Linked DNA regions of Homo sapiens: all the other regions are linked to region 4. The links are contacts of gene promoters, found by promoter capture Hi-C in blood cells and fetal thymus (Javierre and others, 2016). All regions are on one chromosome and are shown on one strand. The core of a region is centred on a gene start or on the middle of the fragment in contact, and the rest is flanking DNA. Distances in the headings are between cores, read along the strand shown.

The links. Contacts are between HindIII fragments. The CHiCAGO score rates a contact against its expected background, and 5 or more counts as called.
Region 1: a contact is called between a fragment that was not itself captured here and the fragment with the promoter of FH in region 4, in 3 of 17 cell types (fetal thymus, total CD8 T cells and non-activated CD4 T cells). The highest score is 7.0, in fetal thymus.
Region 2: a fragment that was not itself captured here is called in contact with the fragment with the promoter of FH in region 4 in 1 of 17 cell types (total CD4 T cells); the score reaches 9.0 in total CD4 T cells.
Region 3: a fragment that was not itself captured here is called in contact with the fragment with the promoter of FH in region 4 in 1 of 17 cell types (naive CD8 T cells); the score reaches 6.7 in naive CD8 T cells.
Region 5: a fragment that was not itself captured here is called in contact with the fragment with the promoter of FH in region 4 in 2 of 17 cell types (non-activated CD4 T cells and total CD4 T cells); the score reaches 7.3 in non-activated CD4 T cells.
Region 6: a contact is called between a fragment that was not itself captured here and the fragment with the promoter of FH in region 4, in 1 of 17 cell types (total CD4 T cells). The highest score is 10.5, in total CD4 T cells.

Annotation. Positions count from the first base shown.
Region 1 is chr1:244,040,507-244,043,769 of GRCh38, forward strand. It overlaps LINC02774 (long intergenic non-protein coding RNA 2774), which reads left to right. Exons shown (of 12, transcript NR_033883.1): 9 at 921-1,049; 10 at 2,917-3,043. Among named protein-coding and RNA genes, the nearest start is that of ZBTB18, 9.1 kb to the right of the region's middle. The HindIII fragment of the contact is 1,219 bases long and covers 1,010-2,228 here.
Region 2 is chr1:244,305,584-244,308,916 of GRCh38, forward strand. All of the region lies in intron 1 of LOC105373262 (a long non-coding RNA gene), which reads right to left. Among named protein-coding and RNA genes, the nearest start is that of SPMIP3, 45 kb to the right of the region's middle. The HindIII fragment of the contact is 1,916 bases long and covers 1,126-3,041 here.
Region 3 is chr1:244,057,716-244,061,119 of GRCh38, forward strand. No RefSeq gene overlaps it. Among named protein-coding and RNA genes, the nearest start is that of ZBTB18, 8.1 kb to the left of the region's middle. The HindIII fragment of the contact is 875 bases long and covers 1,008-1,882 here.
Region 4 is chr1:241,518,487-241,521,568 of GRCh38, forward strand. FH (fumarate hydratase) reads right to left here and starts at 1,269. Exons shown (of 10, transcript NM_000143.4): 1 at 1,105-1,269. The coding sequence starts at 1,236. RefSeq lists silencers at 704-973, 1,149-1,431, 1,254-1,383 and an enhancer at 1,047-1,643. The HindIII fragment of the contact is 3,380 bases long and covers 285-3,082 here.
Region 5 is chr1:244,464,171-244,467,503 of GRCh38, forward strand. The region is part of intron 2 of CATSPERE (catsper channel auxiliary subunit epsilon); the gene reads left to right. Among named protein-coding and RNA genes, the nearest start is that of CATSPERE, 4.6 kb to the left of the region's middle. The HindIII fragment of the contact is 6,278 bases long and covers 1-3,333 here.
Region 6 is chr1:244,441,825-244,445,240 of GRCh38, forward strand. All of the region lies in intron 1 of ADSS2 (adenylosuccinate synthase 2), which reads right to left. Among named protein-coding and RNA genes, the nearest start is that of ADSS2, 8.4 kb to the right of the region's middle. The HindIII fragment of the contact is 1,890 bases long and covers 338-2,227 here.

The sequences.
Region 1 (3,263 bases), core at 369-2,868, 2.5 Mb after region 4:
ATGCAAATGAAAATATAATCTTTTCTCTCTCATAGTCACCGGATGCACCCAAATATATAATTTTATCAGTTCCTCTGCACCAAATTTACTGCTACTAGGACCCTACTGTCTTAATAGGACCTACAGAAAGGGAAAACATTTCTTGCTTGGAGGTATCTTCGTTTATATCCACCAATAGCATATGTCTGTAGTTGAAGCTACACTTGAAAAGTCAGGAATAATTCCTTTCATTATATTTTTAGCTTGTTTATGTGGTTCGATTGAGATCATGGATGTATCCTCAAGGATAAACACCCAAATGACTATGTGTTTTCAAAGCATGGCAGATTCTAATTTGTTTAAAAACAATGGAGTTTTTTCTTTTGATTTCAGAGTGGCCTAAATATCTGAAGAAAAATGACTTAGTGAATTGTTGATGAACTAGCTCTGCAACTCACCAATCTTAATTTGGGGCCTTGGACAAGTCACTTAGCCATTCCATTTCAACATTCTCCTCCAAGTAATGAAAATAACAACACATCTTATGCCTATAAGCGATGTTTGAGGAATAACTCACCTCTAAAATGCCTCAAGGATGAAACATCTCTTCTATATCCTAAAGAATCGCTATGCTTCTCCCAGGAGTAAAGTCTCTACCACATCCATCTGGGATATTTCTAGGTTGGGTCAGAGTGCACCCCCAAAAAGTAAATAGATGCTTTTCTGGTAGTCTACATAATAAGCTGTCCTTCATCCCAAGTTTAAAGGGAGCAGTTGAACATGTAAAGCATTGCTAATCCCGCTGGCCTTGGAAAAATGCAAAGGTGTAAGTTATTTCTTTTCATTATCTCCCTTCCCTTTTCCCCGCCTTCCCCTTTCTTTTCCTTCTCTTCTGCCCTCTCCCTTCTTTCCTTCTGTTCTCTCCCTCCCTCCCTTTCTAGACTATTTCTTGAATGCGTATTATGTGCCAAGCACCATTCTAGGTGCTAAGGATACAGCTATTATCATAGAAGAGTCCCCATCCTGAGGAAGCTTACATCCCACCAAGGAAGATAGGAAACAAAAAATAGGTGGGTATCTTTGATAATGGGAATTTTCCTGGTTCACTTTATCAAAGTAGTTCAAGAGTGTTTCCTTCCAATGCTAGTTCGTGCATCTGGTTATGAGCCAGGCCAGATGTTTTGTACAGAGGCTGATGTAATTCCAACCAGGCCTGATGCATGATAGGGATTCAGTGGCTGTTGAAGGAATGAATTTATTTCTGAAATGTGATTAGTTAGGTTAACAAATAGTTCAAATTACTCAATGAAATGTCAATACATACCTACAATTTCCCTATAAGGTCAACCTAAAACTACGCAATGAATGTGCTATGAAATTCTTATCTCTATTAAGAAAAATCTAGTTCATATTAAGCCAATCTTACCAGAAAAACCAGCCAAACTAGTAACTTAGGTATATGAGTGTGCATGTGAGTACACACACACACACACACACACACACACACGCCTTGCCCTGATCGTAGCAACCTCATGTCTGGAAAGAGTTAAATACTGAGTATAGTCTACATTATTTTTTTAAAATTCTTTATTCTTTTATCAAGTGCTCTCTTGGCAAAATCAACTGAGTATATTCTAGTCTTCTTTACTTTGGGGCCAGCTATTTCATGAAGTATTATTTAAGAATAATTTGCAAGACAAAAAATAGTGGCATACATCAGCAGAGCCCAGGAAGAAGTATTCACATCTCTGCTTTATTTACCTTGCTGCTGCCACCACCAACTCTGCCAGCACCATTGCCACCACCATGGCCTCTACCATAGACCACTTCCCAGTGGGATCTTTCCTTCTCTTTACCTCTCTTCCGTTATCCTTCTTCTACACTGTCACCATCTTCTCACCATTCTTTACAGCCCTCCCATCCCTGTAAAGCTGTTGTCCCATATATTGCTCTACTCTGTCTGTCATTTGTCTCTAAAATGCCCTATTGTGCATGTGTCTTTGTTATGCAGTCTCTTGTCACTGTCTGTTTTAGTGAGCCTGTGTTCCTGCATCTGTCCCATATCCCAAGTGCTAAGGTACGGCGTGGCATTGTACACCAGTTGTGAGTCCAATTTCTTTTTCTGAACCCAAACTTTTTTTTTTTGCCATGACCTTGCTGAACAGCCTCAGTTGTGTAAAGTTACTTCAGAGCAATGGGTTTTCAGTTAAAACATGTGACATTTATGTACAGAGACAGAGAACAAAGAAAGCTTCAAGGCCCCTAGAAGGAATGTGAAATGTGTGTTCTCTGAGTTCATATTCAAGAACCACTTTTCCTATTGTCTCCCATAAAGCTATTACTGCAGCTTCAATTTAAAATGCTTATTTTTACTGAGTTTAATTTAGATACACATTTGCATTGTAAAATGGGTACTTTAAAAATAATCATTTTAGTCTTAGGCATAAATGCTAGTTCTTTGTAAGAGAAGTAACTTCCTGAGTTGCATGTTATTGCTAAGGGCGAAGTAAATTTCTGGAGTGAAATTTAACCTTCTGTCTGCTCTTATTACCGGGAATAGTTTGAATTTGGTATGTATCAAGACTTTTGTGTTAAATTTATAGAATTTCTTTATAACCAAAGAGTTGTATTAAGACAATTTTATCTTGTTACAGTAGTTAAGATTGGTAAACACTTATTAGGCATCAGCAACATATTAGTCTCTGAAAGAAAAATGAAATCTCATCTTTGTCCAGTGGATTCACAATGACATTTATATATACATAATGAAGATATAAGAGGGAATGATATTATTTCATGTATTGTTGGCACCCAGCACATGGTGGAAACTTAACAAGAACCATGATAATGCAGTTTCGTGTTTCTCTAACATATACTAAGTTCTTAGTAAATAATTTCTAGATGTATCATTTTCCTTTCTGCTTGTTTAAATCCAAGAAGGTGCTGCATTCAAGAGTGAAGCAAGCACAAAAGGAAAGGAAAAATCTCTCCCTGGAGGAGAATGCAGACAGACAGACAGACGCTATTTGTATCTTTGCGTCCGAAGCACAGCAGCTAACACACAGTAGGTGTGAGGCATCAATATTACCTGGTAACCTCTCTTGTTCTGTTCATTTCAACTTTTCTAAGTTCATTTGCAACCCGAATTTCTACAAACTCCAATTTAAGCAATGTAATACAAGTGAGAATATTAGCATTCAAATATTTAGAAGTCTTATCCTCTCATTTTGAATAAAACAACTTCTATTTACTAATATTGTACAACATTTTAGCACAATTGATAC
Region 2 (3,333 bases), core at 834-3,333, 2.8 Mb after region 4:
TACTGTTTGGCCTAAAAACGAACTGAGAGAAAATTACAAAAGTCAACCTTAGAACCTAGTGCCCCTATATAGGAAATCCTCAAATCAGCCTCCTCAGTCTTTTGTAACTAAAAGCAGAATAAGGAGGACAGGGCTAAGGAGAAAGGGAAATGCAGGGACAAGAGACAGGCTCAACAACTGGCTGCTTTACAAGCTCTCCAGCCCCCTTCAGGTTACCCTAAGGACAGTCCTTCAGGTAACTGTCATTGGTGTGGGAAGCCAGGCCACTGGAAGGCAAACTGCCCCAATGAGATAAATGGGAAAAAGCCCGGCACAGCTTGCCCCTTTGCCACAAGCTCTGCCACTGGAAAAGAACTGCTCTGACGGCCGAAGGACTGGATCCCAATCCCTGATGGCCTTGAGCTGAAGGAGACCTCTGCTCTGGCTGGCTTCCAAGTCAGACATTGTCATCAGCAAGACAAAGCCAAGGGCAACAGTAGAGGTAGCAAGTAAAATTATACATTTCCCTTTTGGGTTCAAGAGCTGCCTAGTCTATGCTAATCTACTTCTCTAAGCAACTCTTCTCCAAATCCTATCAGGTAACAGGGCAAATGTCACCCTCTCCCTCTAAAAGAAAAGATTCACACCCCTTTAGGACAAAAATATACTTTCCAAAATGGGTGGCTGCTTAATATGTACCCAACCTCTGAATTCACCTTCCTCTCTAATAGCCCTATTTCTCCCAAAAAGCTACCTAAATCTTTAACCGATAACTTCAACCTGTACCATCCTACTTCAGGGGTTTAAAAATAGCCCACACTTATTTGGATGAGCCCTAGCAAAAATCTAACCGAGCAATCTCTTGAGGGGAAACAACTTCTACAGTATGTAGATAACCTCCTCATTTGCTTCCCCTTCACAGGACACACACAACAACATGCAGTACAAACCATAAATTCCTAACAGAAGGAAAATAACTTTTCTCTAATTCAAAGGTTATAAAGGTAAAGAGGTATTTTTGTTAAGGAAGATTATAAAGAAAAGAAATTTTATATGAGAAAGGATCTTTTGTCGTAAATTTGCATCCTAAAGAAAAATAACTGATTGTTTAAAAAGAGGGATGCTTAGGACAAGTGAGAAAGTCCAAGCTTTTCATAGATGTTCTGTGTAAGTCATGAAAAGATTTGTGAAAGGGAATTTATAAAAGAAATATCAAACAATTTTGTTTTGTTTTGTTTATTTATTTTTACAATTTTTAATTTTTGTGAGTACACAGTAGGCATATATATGTATGGCGTACATGAGATATTTTGATACAAGCATACAATGTGTAATAATCACATCAGGATAAATGGGGTATCTATCACTTCAAACATTTATCCTTTCTTTGTGTTACAATCTAATTATAGTCTTATAGTTATTTTTAAATGTACAATAAATTATTGTTGACTGTAGTTACCCTGTTGTGCTATCAAATACTAGATCTTATTCATTCTAACTAACTATATTTTCATATCCAATAACCATCCCCCATTCTACTACTCCACTACCCTTCCCAGACTCTGGTAACCATCATTCTAACACAAATGTGAATTACAATGTTCTAATGTGAATTTAGAAATGTTTCGCTTCTCAGTAATTTTGTGATATGAACAAACATTACCAAAAACACAAGATTCTATTTTTCTAGTAAAATACCCTATGGTAGAATTTCAAATATCATGTTGGATTCTTTTCGTGTTTATTTGGATGAAAATAAGGTATGTTAAGTAAGTGTAATTATCTCATTTTTATACTGCTTGTATACTTTCTTGAGAAGTTCAGAACCATTTCTTCTCTGATAAAGATAATAACGTTATATACTTTCACAAAGAACAAGCATGGTTTTTAACCTGTTAAATTGAAATTCATACTACTAAATAAATGAATAAATAAGTAAATAAATAGAGGAAGCAGTGGAACTTCTTTCTTACAGTAGAATACCAAGTAATTAATGTAGAAGGAATGATGAAAATAGCAAACCACCATATGACACTATTATGGTTATAATTTATTCAGATAGGGATCATCCACAAATATTAAGGCTGATGGGTAGAAGTTGTTAAGGATCAGGATTTTAGCATAATTTTAGAAAATCTCCCCACAAAATGCTTATCAATTGCAAAGGTGAAAATGGTGACTCAATGGAGGAGAAATATGGAAGACACCAACATGACCAAGCAATCAAGATTAACATCACCAGTGATGAGACAAGACCACATCATATGCTGTAATGTGCAGAGCCCAGGATCCTGTCCATCATTTTCCTGTCAAGAAATCATGGCGAGGTCTGACCAAAATGAAATATTAGATGGAACCAGGTCTAGGGCCATCCTACATAACAAAAGGCCTGCACTCTTAAAAACTGAAGGATGTGGGGCCAGTTGCAGTGGGTCGTGCCTGTAATCCCAGCACTTTGGGAGGCCAAGGTGGGTGGATCACTTGAGCCCAGGAGTTTGAGACCAGCCTGAGCAACTTGAAACTCTGTTCTACAAAAAAAAGCAAAAATTAGCCGAGTGTGGTGGCACACGCCTGTAGTCCCAGATACTCAGGAGGCTGAGGTAGGAGGATCACCTGAGCCTGGAGAAGTCAAGGCTATAGTGAGCCATGATCACCCCACTGTACTCCAGCCTGGGTGACAGAGTGAGACTGTCTCAAAATAAAAACAAAAACAAAAAACGGAAGGATGTGGAAGACAGGGAAAGACTAAGAAATTATTCCATATTGAAGGGAATCTCCTTCCTTCTATTCGGACATGTGACAACTAAATGTAATGCATGCTCCTGGACTGGATCCTGGACCTGAAAGGGAAAAGAGACATGATGGGCTGAGCCAGCAAAATTTGAATGGGATCTGTGGATTGGGTAGCAGTGTTGTGCCCATGTTTATTTCTGCCTTGGAGGGTTTGTATAAGTTTTCTAGCACTGTCATAACAAATTACCACAAACCACATGGCTTTAAACAACAGAAATGTATTATCTTGAAGTTCTGGGGGCTAGAAGTCCAAAATCAAGGTGTCAGTAAGCTTGGTTCCTTCCGGAGACTCTGATGGAGAAAGCGTCCCATGCCTTTCTCCTTGCTTCTGGTGGTTGCTGGCAATACTTGGGGTGCCTTTGTTTGTGGCAGCAGATCCCCAACCTCTGCTTCCATCTTCACATAGCTATCTGTGTGTCTCTGTGTCTCTCTTTGTCCTCACCTTTTCTTATGAGGACACCAGTCTATGGGATTCAGGGCCCACCTTAATCCTTGGACGGATTCAATTGGAGATCCTTCATTACATCTGTAATGACCCTATTTCAAAATAAGGTCACATTC
Region 3 (3,404 bases), core at 195-2,694, 2.5 Mb after region 4:
CTCATGAATCATGAAACTACGTGGCAGCATAGGTTGTTAAAAATACACTGTACAACTACTAATCCATATACCGTAAGTCACTTTTCGTGTGTAATTTTATCCTAAGTTGATCGGTCAAATCTATTCTCCTGTGTTCTGGTTTAAGTGGAAAATTGAAGGAGACCGGATGTTTTAATTTGGAAGACTGCTTGGCTAATGACTGGAATTCTAGGCAATTGAATTAGCAGGCATGCAATTGTTCACGATTAGCTATATACATCCTTTTTGTTGCTGGGAGAACTCGAAAGTTTCTAGGTTTTAATTCTCAAGTTTTAATTTAAACATGTAATTAAATACATGGACCATTAAAAGAACTCTGTTCCCTACTTTTTATGATTGTCCCAACTTCATGCTTATCTAGTTGGGTACATGTCAGGGTGAGAAACATTGCTGGTTGACCTGGGTAGGGAATTGACAGAACACTCACACATGCGGATGATACTGTAGAGGAATTGTCACAAACAACCCTAAGCTCAAGCAGTCAGGTGCAGGCATGGAGAGGTTTTGTAAACCGTGCTTGTCTCTAACTTCCAACCTTAAATAGAAATATGACTATGAAATTTTACATTATTACTGTCAAACTATGTTTATATTCAGTGGCCTATAGTAAGGTCAATATTTTTAACCTACAGAAGTGGGATATAAGGTCTGAAGTTTGAAAATGGACCATTTACCAACTACCTGGTGGCTTTGGATAGGAAGCCACAGGGATTTTGTCATGAAGTATAATAACATAATTTGGAATCCTAATTTCCATCCCCCTGCCTTTTTTTTTTTTTTTCTAAAACAATTTTTAAAGTATGTAACTCATCCTTGGTTTTAACCAGCCAAATACTGTTTCACATGAAAGGGGAATGTACATTTGACCCCCATAGAATAATTTCTTGAGCAGTTACAAGCTTACAAAAAGGGGAGGGAGGGGGACTTTTTATTTTCAGTTCCTATAGTAACTGGTCAGAGTATCTCAAAGCTTCCTGAAGATGCTGAGCGTTTACTTGAATTTAGTTCTGTGGACTAACATCTAATTTTAAGTAAGGAACATTATCTTAACAATCTTAACTGGATATACTTATAAAAATAATATTTTGACATGATTTGGAAGAAGTAACTTCTTAAAACATTCTTTGCAAAACTAGAACAGAATATTAATTACACAAACTGCCACATTTGGTAAGTGAAATGAAGGAATCATTTATTTGCCACATTTAAAAAAGGAAATTAATTTGTCATGTGATCATGTTGGAAACCATTAAAACTGATCCCTCCTTTGACATCTGGCTGATACATAGTATATTTTAAATATGTAGTTTTATTTACTTTAGAAAACTTCTTTTTCCTTTAGATAATCAATTATGCACTGGATTGATGTGGGTTCAGCATTGTGTGCTAGGGGTACCCTAGGGAAGATCCAAGAAGTATAAAGTGTTAAGGATACTAGTTTCGGATTTCCTTTCTGGTTAATTATGCTATCAGATTAATAGGTGAATCAAATAGAGTTTTTCTTTAACATTTGTTATGAATATCTACAAATAGGTTATTGAAAGGTTGGAAAAAGGGGAATACTATATTAACATTTTAGAACAGTTAAAATGGCCAAAATAATCATTTTCCAAGTAAATCTTTTTAACTACCATCAAAAAATCTTTTTTTTTTTTTTTTTTACCAAGAAGTGGCACTACTTAAAAAATCTCGAACTTCCAAGTGTTACGTATAAAACACACACCGACTCACTGACTCCATGAAGCCTTGACTCAAGAAATCCCATTGTACATATAAGATTTTTTTTTTAATGGTCTTAAGACCTCAAAATTTCCTGCATGGCATGACTATTTTATTCCTATAAAGCTTAAAACATTCTTTGATTTCCACTATAACGAGGGAAAGTTTCACATGCTCTGACTAGGAAACTGAGATAATTTTATATTTTAATTTGTAGATACTGACCTAAATTTTTGTTATAATTGTTTGTTGCAATGCTTGAATTTGCTGATAAGGTACAGTGAATTGAGTGTGAATTTGAAATGCGGCAAAGAAAAGCTCCGTCCTTTTCACTGAAATTACTTGACATTAAAATGCTAAAGATACCATCTTTAAAAATAAAGGAATAGTTTTATTTTTTAAAAGCGAATAGCTTTTAGGAGTTTCATTTTGGCTGTAGTCCAAGTTTATTATACTGACAGGATTTTGTCCCTTATGTTAAAATTTTTGTACCTTTGCCTACAAAAACACGGCAAAATATCTTTGTATATAATCCCTTGGTTTAAAATGTAGAACCGTTTATCTTTTGACTCCGAGTAGGTTTACTTCCATAAAAAAGAAACATTTTATGCTTCTAGGACCTCCGCCCTTGCTTACATTTCCTTAATATTATAAAAGGATAGCTAAAGTAATCAGATCTTATTGATGACACGGGAGGTTTTTAGAAATTCATTTTCAGAGGCACTTTAGAAATTGGACTTTCAGTATTTTTGTGAACCAACCCCTTAAAAAAATCTTTACTAATTAACTTTTGTAATTTCTTGTGAAAGAAGCTAAACTCCAAATTTAAAACACTGTAATCAGAAAGGATGAGGTCATATAAATGGAACAATGGCATGAAAAGTTGTTTTTTTTTTTTAAGTCTAAATACTTTATAATGTATCTGCTTACACTAAATAAATTGTTGAATTAATCATCCAGGTAATTCAGGCTTATAGGATAGTATTTGTCTAAAAATATTTAAGTACTTGCAATAAATCAGCATTTTTTTTGAGAGGGATGAATTATCCAGGTAAATTTCCTGATTTGATTCTAGCATTTACTAATGTACTGTGCATCATAATTCCTAGGTTTATGTGATCATGGTACTTTTCTTTAGCTGTAGGTACTTCACAAAAAATGTATATATATATTCTTTGAAAACCAAAATTTTTCTTGACTTTTGGGGCACATATGGCCAAATAAGGTATCTCCCTTTTCTAATCTTTGGAAATGGGTTTGCAGTCAAGCTTGCAATTTGCTATAGGAGGCATTCTCTAGTTAGTTTGGCAAGAAAGGAGTGAAAACCCAATTTGGCTTTAAAATGTAGCACATTAGTCAGTAACAGTTTCAGTGAGGATATTTAGAGTGGCTTTGAGAGGCCGTGTGACACCCAGAGAGAGTCCATTCACGGAAATGACTTATTTACAGTTTGTTATAATCTCTTTAGTTAATCATTAAATCAAGTAGCTTTTATTAAATGTCAATATGTATGGTTAATATGACTACATAGGAATTTTAAAAAGTCATATTGCCCCAAATATTCATGTTTGTAAAGGGTATATTTGTAGTTAATATGAAGTGGAGCTTGGAAAACGTATTTGAATATTGGTAAACATTTATAGGAC
Region 4 (3,082 bases), core at 19-2,518:
ATATCGTAGGTATAGTGACCCAATCAAATTATCTTGAAGTTTAGAGTCCAGAAAAAGTACTGGCCCTTTGAAATACCCTAGATGGGGCACTTATTTAATGAGCACTCGCTACATGGTATTTTCACATGTGCAGTTTTGCTGAGTAGCTGTAAGTATTTCAACTTTGCATACGGATTTGAAATCACATCTCTTAGATTGCAAACCTCATGCTACACCAGTGCAGAACTGTAACTCTTCAACTATCATTTCTCAAACGTTTCCTAACAATATACATATGTATTTAAAGCTTTTTAAAAGCCTGCATTCCTAAAGATGACACTCTAAAGAGCAAAATGACTTACGTAAGCATGTCATAACCTGAACTTGGATCTTTAAGTTCTTAGCTGGCTTTCTGAATAAAAAGTACCGATTCAGCTCCTAGCCAATCTGCTCAAACATGCTTCAGAACACTATGCCCGCGGTATTCGGAATTGAAGAGTTTTACAACAATTACGGGGGAAACCATAGTCAGCCTAACAAACTGAGCATGCAATTTCAAAGGAAGTAAAATCTTCGAAGAACCTTCTACCCCACCTGGAGGGCCTGAAAGCAGTGCAGTGCCCCTTGGCGAAACAAACCACAGTTCAGAAACCACTAGATGCACAGGCGGCCAGTGTCCGGCCAGCAAGGCCCAGCTATGGGGCAGGACGGTGCGGGAGCTGCCCCTCTCCCAGCACCCTCCGCCCACGCCGGCACTGTCCTTGAGGGCAGCGCCCCGGGGCTGGGGGCCTGCGCGCCAGCAGCAGCGAAGTTACCTCAAAACGCCCCGGCCTCGGCCCGCCACGGACGGCTCCGAGGAGGCGCCGGGAGCGGGCCCAGTAGGACCCTCTCTGACAGCCCCCGTCCCTCCCCAAGCGCTCTCCCGGGCTGCGGCTCCATCCCTGCGCCGGAAGAGGCGTCCCGAGGCCGGGAGGCCCGCCACGCCGGCACGGGCGCTAAGCCCAGAGTCTGGCGCGGCCCGGACGCCCGGGGAATCTCTCCCGCCAAGTCGCGGGCGCCCAGGCCGGCAGGCAGGAGGGCTGAAGGTCACTGCGGGGAGGCCGGGGGATGGCGGCCTGCGCTCACCATTCGAGCCGCGTTCGGAGGCCAAAACGAGGGCACGGCCGCGCCACCCAAGCCGGGAGCCGAAGCTAAGGCTGCGGCTGGAGCCCGCACGAGGGGACGCGAGCGCGCGAGGAGCCGAAGTGCTCGGTACATGGTGCTGAGGGAGCTTGGGTAGAATTTCTGGGCGGCTGTGGCCACGCCTCCACGCCGGTTGTCAGAAACCGTTCCGCCCACCGGCCTCCGCTCTTATCCAATCAACAGCCTCACACCGACAGGTGGGGCAGGACCAATCGTGAATGACCAGTAAAGAATGAGGGGGCGGGTTAACTTTCTAGTAGTAGTGTGGGGTGTAAGGCCTTCGGATTCATGGGAAACTAGAAAGAAGGGAATTATGGGAAAGGAGGCTCAGGTTATTCTTGGAGCCGGTCTGATTTTTACGTGTGGCTGTTAGAAGGCGGGAGTATTAGTTGGTGAATCAGGTCGTGTTTGGTTGGTGAAATATCCTAGAAAGAAATATTTATTGTTTTATTTATCATGTAATCACTCATTACACGTTCTTACTACTGAAATCTTTCTTCATTTCTTCCAGATTGTATCTTCTGTGTAGAAATTTTGGGAAGTGCAGCAAAGTGTAGATAATGAAATAGTAATTATTCATAATCCCACAACTGAAAAATAAGCTACTTACTTATTTCTTTTAACTTATCATTTTGAGATCGCTACCGTTTCCTTTCTCTTCTTAGCCTATACCCTCAGAACTCTTTTTTTTTTTTTAATGTATTGTGGAAGACGTACACAATTATAGGGAACCTCGGAATTTTTATTATTTGTATATCGTTCTCCCAGTTTTTTGCATAGCTAATTTATACATTTTCAAATTAAAGGCATATTGTTTTAATATAATAGTTGATTACAGAAAAGCAGGAATTGATATAAAATTGCATCTGAACCACAGTTTTATCTTTTCTCTTTTCTATTGCTTGGAACCAGATGACAGTAAAGAGAGAGCGATCGGATGTTCTTAAAATCAAAAGTCCAGAACCTGCAAAGCCAAATTTATGAGTCAAACTTACAAACTTGCCAAACCTTTTGGTAACATTATGTTATTTTGTGACTTATAAATTTGACACATATTTAAAATATAAAAATTCAAATGAGATTGTAATAGTTGAACTACAATCAAAACACACTAGAAAACTGAATGCAAATTCTTTAAAACATTGCTAATAATGGAATGACGTTTTGTTTTTGTTCTCCTCCTTCCCAGCAGGTATCATTATTGTGTATATCATTATTTTGATGCATCCTTTCAGTTCTGTGTATTTTTTGCTTCATACACTAATATACAAACAATGGTTTTAATATTTTACTTTAAAGTTTTACTGTTGCATAATTGAACTCTATGCTTTTAAGATATAGCCATGATCTTTTAAAATTAATCATATTGGATCACATGAATATGAAATATTTTATTTATCCAGTTTCTTAATAAAGAACATTTTTCTTTGCTATTACACAAAATTATTTAATGAACATATGTTTATCATTTCTTCATAGATCATCTCTTTCTTCATTGTGTGGTGCCCCTCTTTATTGTTATTGTTGCTTGTCCTTTTAAACTTTTTTTAATATTGATATTTCTCTACCAATTTCATATTGGCTATTATTTGCCTGCTGTATATTTCTCATTTTATTTTATTTTTTGTTTCATTTTTGTTTCGAGCATGTCTCTTATTTCTACCATACAGTTTAACTTTTCAAAACCCAAATTAATAGCCTTTTTATAAATAGGTTATTTTAATCCCTTTTAAAAATTACCTATGACACATATTATGTTCTAGAATTTTTCAAAGCACTTTATATGTATTAATTCTTGGAACACTCAAAAACAACCCTATGAGATAGGTCCTATTATTATTCCTGTACATAGAAGAGAAAAATTGATGCCCAGGAACATCCACATATTTATTTGTGTGTTTTACTTCGATTTATTAGTGAA
Region 5 (3,333 bases), core at 595-3,094, 2.9 Mb after region 4:
GATTCACTGTTCACAATGTGATGTTATTATATAGGTAGGATAACCATTCAGTATATTGCCTAAACCCATGAGAATGGGAGTGCTATTAATAATTATACAACAGGTATAAATTAGAACTGTCTAGACAAATCAGGATGTATGGTCACCCAAACTATAGACCTCATTCTCTATATTACTTTTCTTATTCAACACTTTCTACTTCATTTCTTCTTATCTGCCTAATTACTGGTGTAAATCAATTATATTTTATATACCCCTATTGCTGGACATATAGCTTCCTACCATCACAAACAATACTGGAATGAGTGTCCTCTATAGGTCCTTTTATGTATCTGTGTATCTGTGCAATCATTTTCCTGCTATATGTAGCCAAATAGAGTTGCCTGGCCATGGGAAATACACTTAATTTAACAAAGTTCCGCAAGATTGTTTCCCGAATGGCAGTTACAATTTATATTCTCACTCAATGTACATCTTCACCAAAATTTGGTGTTATTAAATTTCCTATTTTTTTTTTACCAATCTCATTATTATCCAGTGATAGCTATTGCTGTTGTTATTTTCAGTTTCTTTGATGACTAGTGATTTTGAGCATCTCTTCGCATATTATGTAGGCTTCTCCTTCTATTACCTGTTCATACCCTTTGCCTATTTTTCATTTAATTTTCTGCCTTTTTCTTACTCGTTAACACAGTGCTATCTACATTGCGTTGTAAAAATTAATCAAATGTTGGTTTCAAAGATTCAGTTATCTCAAGTTTCTGTTAACTTTGTTCATGGATACTTTACTGAAAAAAAAAAAAGCTGAATTTTGATGAGCCAAATCTCTCCCCTCCTTTGCCTTATGATTTAAACTTTTGGAGGCTCCTTTTTTTTTTTTTTGGAGACAGAGTCTCACTCTGTCACCCAGGCTGGAGTGCAGTGGTGCAATCTTGGCTCACTGTAACCTCTGCCTCCCGGGTTCAAGCGATTCTTCTGCCTCAGCCTCCTGAGTAGCTGGGACTACAGGTGCACACTACCATGCCCGGCTAATTTTTGTACTTGTAGTAGAGATGGGATTTCACCATATTGGCCAGGCTGGTCTTGAACTCCTGACCTCGTGATCCACCAGCCTCGGCCTCCCAAAGTGCTGGGATTACAGGCCTGAGCCACCGCGCCTGTCCAGGGCTCTTATTTAATAAAAATATTTGCTTACCCTGAACTGAAATGTTTTTATAATTTTAGTTTATATTTCTTATATTTTTACCTTTAAAATATAGGTCATAAATCCATCTAGAGTCTGCCTTGTATATAGTACAATAGGCATTCACATTACTTTTTTCACATAATGAACCAGAATCTATTAAACAACTCACTGTTCCCCTATTACCTTTCTCATGTCACCTTTGTTCCGTATGTAGATGAGTTGTTTGTGAACTTTCTTATTTGTCCTGGTGCCAATTCTACACTCTCTTAACTGCTATAGCTTTCTAATGAGTCTTCGGATCTGGTCCTGTGAACATCTAGTTTGTTCTTCCACAAGACTACTTTGGCTATTTGCGTTTTTATATAAATTTTAGAATAAGGCTGTTAGTTTTCACAAGCAAAAATCTGCTGAGATTTTGATTGGGATTGCACTTGGGGAGAACTGACATTGTTATCATAGTAACTGGTATCATTATGATATTGAATCTTCCAATTCATGAAGAATGATGTAGCCCTCCAGAGTTGATCTCATTATCTTCTTCCTAACTTTAGTAGATTTCTTCCAACATCTCCCAATTAAACAGATGCTCCCTTTTGGGCAGAGAGAGATACATTTCATTAAATTAACTAAGTATTCATTGGTTCCTAATTTATTGAATATGGTAAAAAATAGTCGCTATAAGTGATACTTATAGTGAATTGTGAAATGCCTTTTCACAGTCTACAGAAAAAAGTTTTTGAGTTTTCTCAGACTTGTTATCATAGTGAATCATATTAACATATTCACTTTTATTGTATCATCCTTGGATTTTGGGAAAACCCCACACGGTACCAATGTAGTAGTTCAATATGCTCTCAGGGACTATTGTTAATATTTTATATAAGATTCTTTTATCAATATTCATACATGAGTTTGCTCCACAGCAGTTATCTCAGTGGGGATGCCACTGAAATTTTGAGCAGGAAAAATTTTCATTGTATGGAACTATCCTTTGCTTTGCAGAACAGCTTGCTTCCCTGGTTCCCAAACACTAAGTAGCAGTGACAATCCTCAGGGATTGTGTGACCTGAGATACTCTTCCATATTTCCAGATGCCCTCTAAGGCAGGCAGAATCCAGCCAGTACACACTTGGGTAGCATGCTGCCTGGTATTCGCTTGGAACTGTCAGTGTCTGTGCTGTACAACTTGTTAAACACTTGTCATATTATCCCTGTCTTTAAGGGAGCGTGTAGCAGTCAGGGGTCAGAGGACAGCAGTAACCACTCTAGATATTTCAAGCAGAAATTTATTTGCTACAGGAAATTAGGTGCTCACCAAACTGTTGGGAGGGCTAGGAAAGCAAGGGTCTTAGAAACCCCCACTAATTTTTAGGTTTATCAATAGTCAAAAAGTTGCTGTTGCCACCAGAGATCAGGACCTGGAGGAAATAGGTGCCCATGTCACAAGTCTCTCCCAGTACCTAATGAGGGATGGTGCTCAATGGAAAGATGGGACAGAGGCCTTCCCCAAAACCACCTATCTTTGAAGCCTGGACTTTTGGTACCACTGCCTGAGGAAGAAGAATGGCTTCCTCTTTTTTACAAGTTCCAGTCCACATCTGATTTTCAGTCGTTCAGAACCCTTGAGGGTTCCTGGTTTCCAGCTCCTGCAATCTAGGGATAGCCTAGAGTTATGCAGGAATGAATGATCATGGCTGAGAATACAATACACAACAGTCAATTCCTAGCACTGTGTGGTATCACTCGTAAATTAGAATCAGGAGTCTTTAGTTAATTTTTACTAAATAACTCAACAATTTCTGTTGTGTTTTCTATCAGTGTTGTGCTCCCTTTATAAATAAATAAATATTTATAATTTGAACCAGGCCCAGATGGTTTTGTGTGGGAATTCTACCAAATCTTTAAGAAGCACATCATTTCAGTATTGTTTAAATTTTTCTAAAGTATAAAAAAGAAAGGAGGAAAAGACCTAAGGGGATATTTCACAAAAAAGGATGTACAAATGACCAGCAAACTTATGAAAAATTAGTGAAGTGTGAATTAAAATTACAGGGAGATGTAATTACAAACCAATCAGAATGCCTAAAATTAAGAAGACTGAAGATAACAAGGGGTGGTAAGAATGTAAAGCAGTAGGAACTCTAATA
Region 6 (3,416 bases), core at 33-2,532, 2.9 Mb after region 4:
ACGTGCCTGTAGTCCCAGCTACTCGGGAGGCTGAGGCAGGAGAATGGCGTGAACCCAGGAGGCGGAGCTTGCAGTGAGCCGAGATCACGCCACTGCACTCCAGCCTGGGCCACAGAACAAGACTCTGTCTCAAACAAACAAACAAAAAGTTTTAAAAAATTCATCATTTGCTCAAGGTTAAAAATAAACTACTCTAATTTTTGGAGTAGACCCTTAAAGTAGGTCTCCTAATTTACACAAAATTACTTTTATAGCTATACCAATATAATCATTTGATGAATTATTATTTGACAATTATTACTGGTAGTGAATGACAATGTTCTTATTGTGTAACAAAAGCTTACTCTCTTAGCTAATATTTTACCAAGACAGATAGTAATGATGGAATTAACCATAATAAAGAGATGATGGTTGCTCTACACACACACACACACACACACACACAAATTTTTTAGGCAGATGGTTGTGATGGATGACTTTAGGGGGAAAAATTGGCTTAACTCCCTAAGTTTGTCCAAGTTTATAGGCAGCTCAGGCTGGAAAGTTCAGCAGTAAAAGACAAAGTCACATGGTGGTATAAAGTTTGCTCATTCAAATATTAGTTATTGAAAAATAGCAACATTTTTCAATAACCAGTATTACATTGATTATTATATGGTTTAAATATCATTTAAGTTGTTTCCGTATGGAAACATTGTTAAATATACCCAGAAACACCCGAGATTATCCTACGTGGGATTTAGGGGGAAATATCTAAGTGCTTATTTATATTTGGTCACTAGTGCTCTGTGAGGCAGTTGGGGTATAACTTTTAATCTTGAAACGCACACTACACAGAAGGGTCTTCAGGAGAACTGAGAAAGAGCTGCTCATAAGGAGTTTCTTGATGAGGTAATCTATATAGGAAGCAAGTTTTAGTATACTGTATTTTATAAAATGCAACAGATAAAGAAATTTGAAGTGCCCATTTGGATGTTAACCTAAAATATTCAGATTATGTAAATAGGCAAAATTCACCTTGGGAGCTCAGGCAATTGTCCTCAAACAGAGATTATACTGGTTCAAGGAGAGGTCACATATTAGCAGACAGTAAAACAAAGCATTTCAAATATGAGCACCATAACCAAAAACAGTTTCAAATACGAGCACCCCCTCAGTCTCCCACCTATGTATTAGAAGGGCAGATGGAGCTGCTCCTACATGGGCCCATGGGCAACTCTGTGTAATATGTGCCAGGATGAGCAACAGCAAGGATGTGTTTGATTCATCATGTTTCATGATTCTCCCAAGCAGCACTGGGGAGGCCAGATAGTACCAAACAAATGATGGGAGATATTTTGTTGTTGTTGTTCTACTTCTAACGGAAACATACAATTTCCTTCTCAATCCAAATTTTCCACAAACCAAACTTGGTAAGTTATCTCCCACAAATGTATTAGTCTTATAATCACATTAACAGTTACACTAACTACCTCCTGCTTCTTTGCCAAACTCCCGTAACACTTATGATCCCAGTCACTCTTGTAGCATTTAACAAATACTTTTCATTATCATAGCTGTATATTCTATATTACTTAACAAAAAAATAGAATATGTTCAATTAATAGTTATATAAACAAAGGGCTGTGGAATCTCAACGTTGTTTCTGGATCAATTATATCCAACAGGGAAAACATTTAGTAATAAATCTCAGAGATAATTTTTTGAACTTTGTTTTTCCTAGAAATAAGTCATATTTCTGAGTTGGTAAAATGCTTTTCTGAACGTACATTTTTGGTATCTGGCACAGTCAACCAAATGTCTGTCCATTTTTGTGTAGCCTTTATACAGTACAGATTTCAGACATCATCCTTGCATCTGAATATTAAAAACATTTGACATTGTTTTTTTCAGTCCGCACAACACCCCTATGAAGTAGGTGGTACTGACTATTCCACAGATGGGGAGGCCTAGGCACGGAAAGGTTTAGTGGCTCCTCACAAGCCACGTGGCAGGGAGGCGGAGTGGCAGAGTGGCGGAGCGGCTCTCCAGCCACGTGCTGACACCGCCTTCTCATTCACACTTCCATCAGTGCCACAACACTGCATGGCAGGCTTTCAGGTTGAGGCCAATTTTTAAACCATTTTACTTCTGAAATATACCCTACCCCCCACCAACACCCCAAGAAACAAAAAACAGCATGAGTCCACAAGTAGCTACGTGGCAGGTTTCTTTGAGGAAAAGCATAAGCTTATAATGCCTTATATGATGTTCTTCTTATATTAAATACCAAGAATAAATGCAGGTTAATTTTATTAAAGTGAACAATATATGAAAGAAAATTCAATTGCAGTCACAAAACATCCCCTAATATAGTATATATTTTACCAATTTTCTTTGACTGTTATTCTTACATTAAGATGAAATACAGGCCGGGCGCGGTGGCTCACGCCTGTAATCCCAGCACTTTGGGAGGCCGAGGCGGGCGGATCACGAGGTCAGGAGATCGAGACCATCCCGGCTAAAACGGTGAAACCCCGTCTCTACTAAAAATACAAAAAATTAGCCGGGCGTAGTGGCGGGCGCCTGTAGTCCCAGCTACTTGGGAGGCTGAGGCAGGAGAATGGCGTGAACCCGGGAGGCGGAGCTTGCAGTGAGCCGAGATCCCGCCACTGCACTCCAGCCTGGGCGACAGAGCGAGACTCCATCTCAAAAAAAAAAAAAAAAAAAAAAGATGAAATACAAAGAAAATATTAAATAAGCTTCTTAATTACCAGGAAAAAATGTATCTCATCACAGAGCTATGAAATAAACTGGAACATCATGATAGAAACAAAAAGCAGGACTAAAATTCTATGTTCTCAAAGCTGAAAAGCAAAGTTTCTGATGTATGCTTTTAGTTTTTACCATCAATACATAGCTAATTTTCATTATTTTAATTAAGGTTAAAATAATAAAAACCAATTTAACTCTATTTTTTGTTCCAGAAAAGCACTACAGGTCAATAGCACATTAGAGTTTTGGAAAACAATTTATAAATGAGAACAATCCAGAACAAATGCTTCCTCATACCTTATTTTCCTATACAAAATTAACTCCAGGTTAGTTATAGCTTTTGTATGCTCAGTCCCCCTCCTTTTCCCCTACTTTGCAAATCATAGGAATCATCCCCCCAGCCACAGCAAACTGATCCAGGCAGGGAAACATGTTCCAACCTGAGCCAGTCAGCTCCTCTCCCTTGGGAATCTGAATTTGAGTACTGAGAAGGAAAGCAATAGCAGTCTGAGATGCCTGTCACCTACGGGAAGCATCCTAAAGAAAAAGGTTGCCAGTTCTAGCTGCTGAAATTCCAGGAGCAGGCTTCATCTCAGGCCACCATCCTGCTCTTCCTTTAAACAAATCCCCATTTTGCTTGAGATAGTTTCTTTCCATTGCTT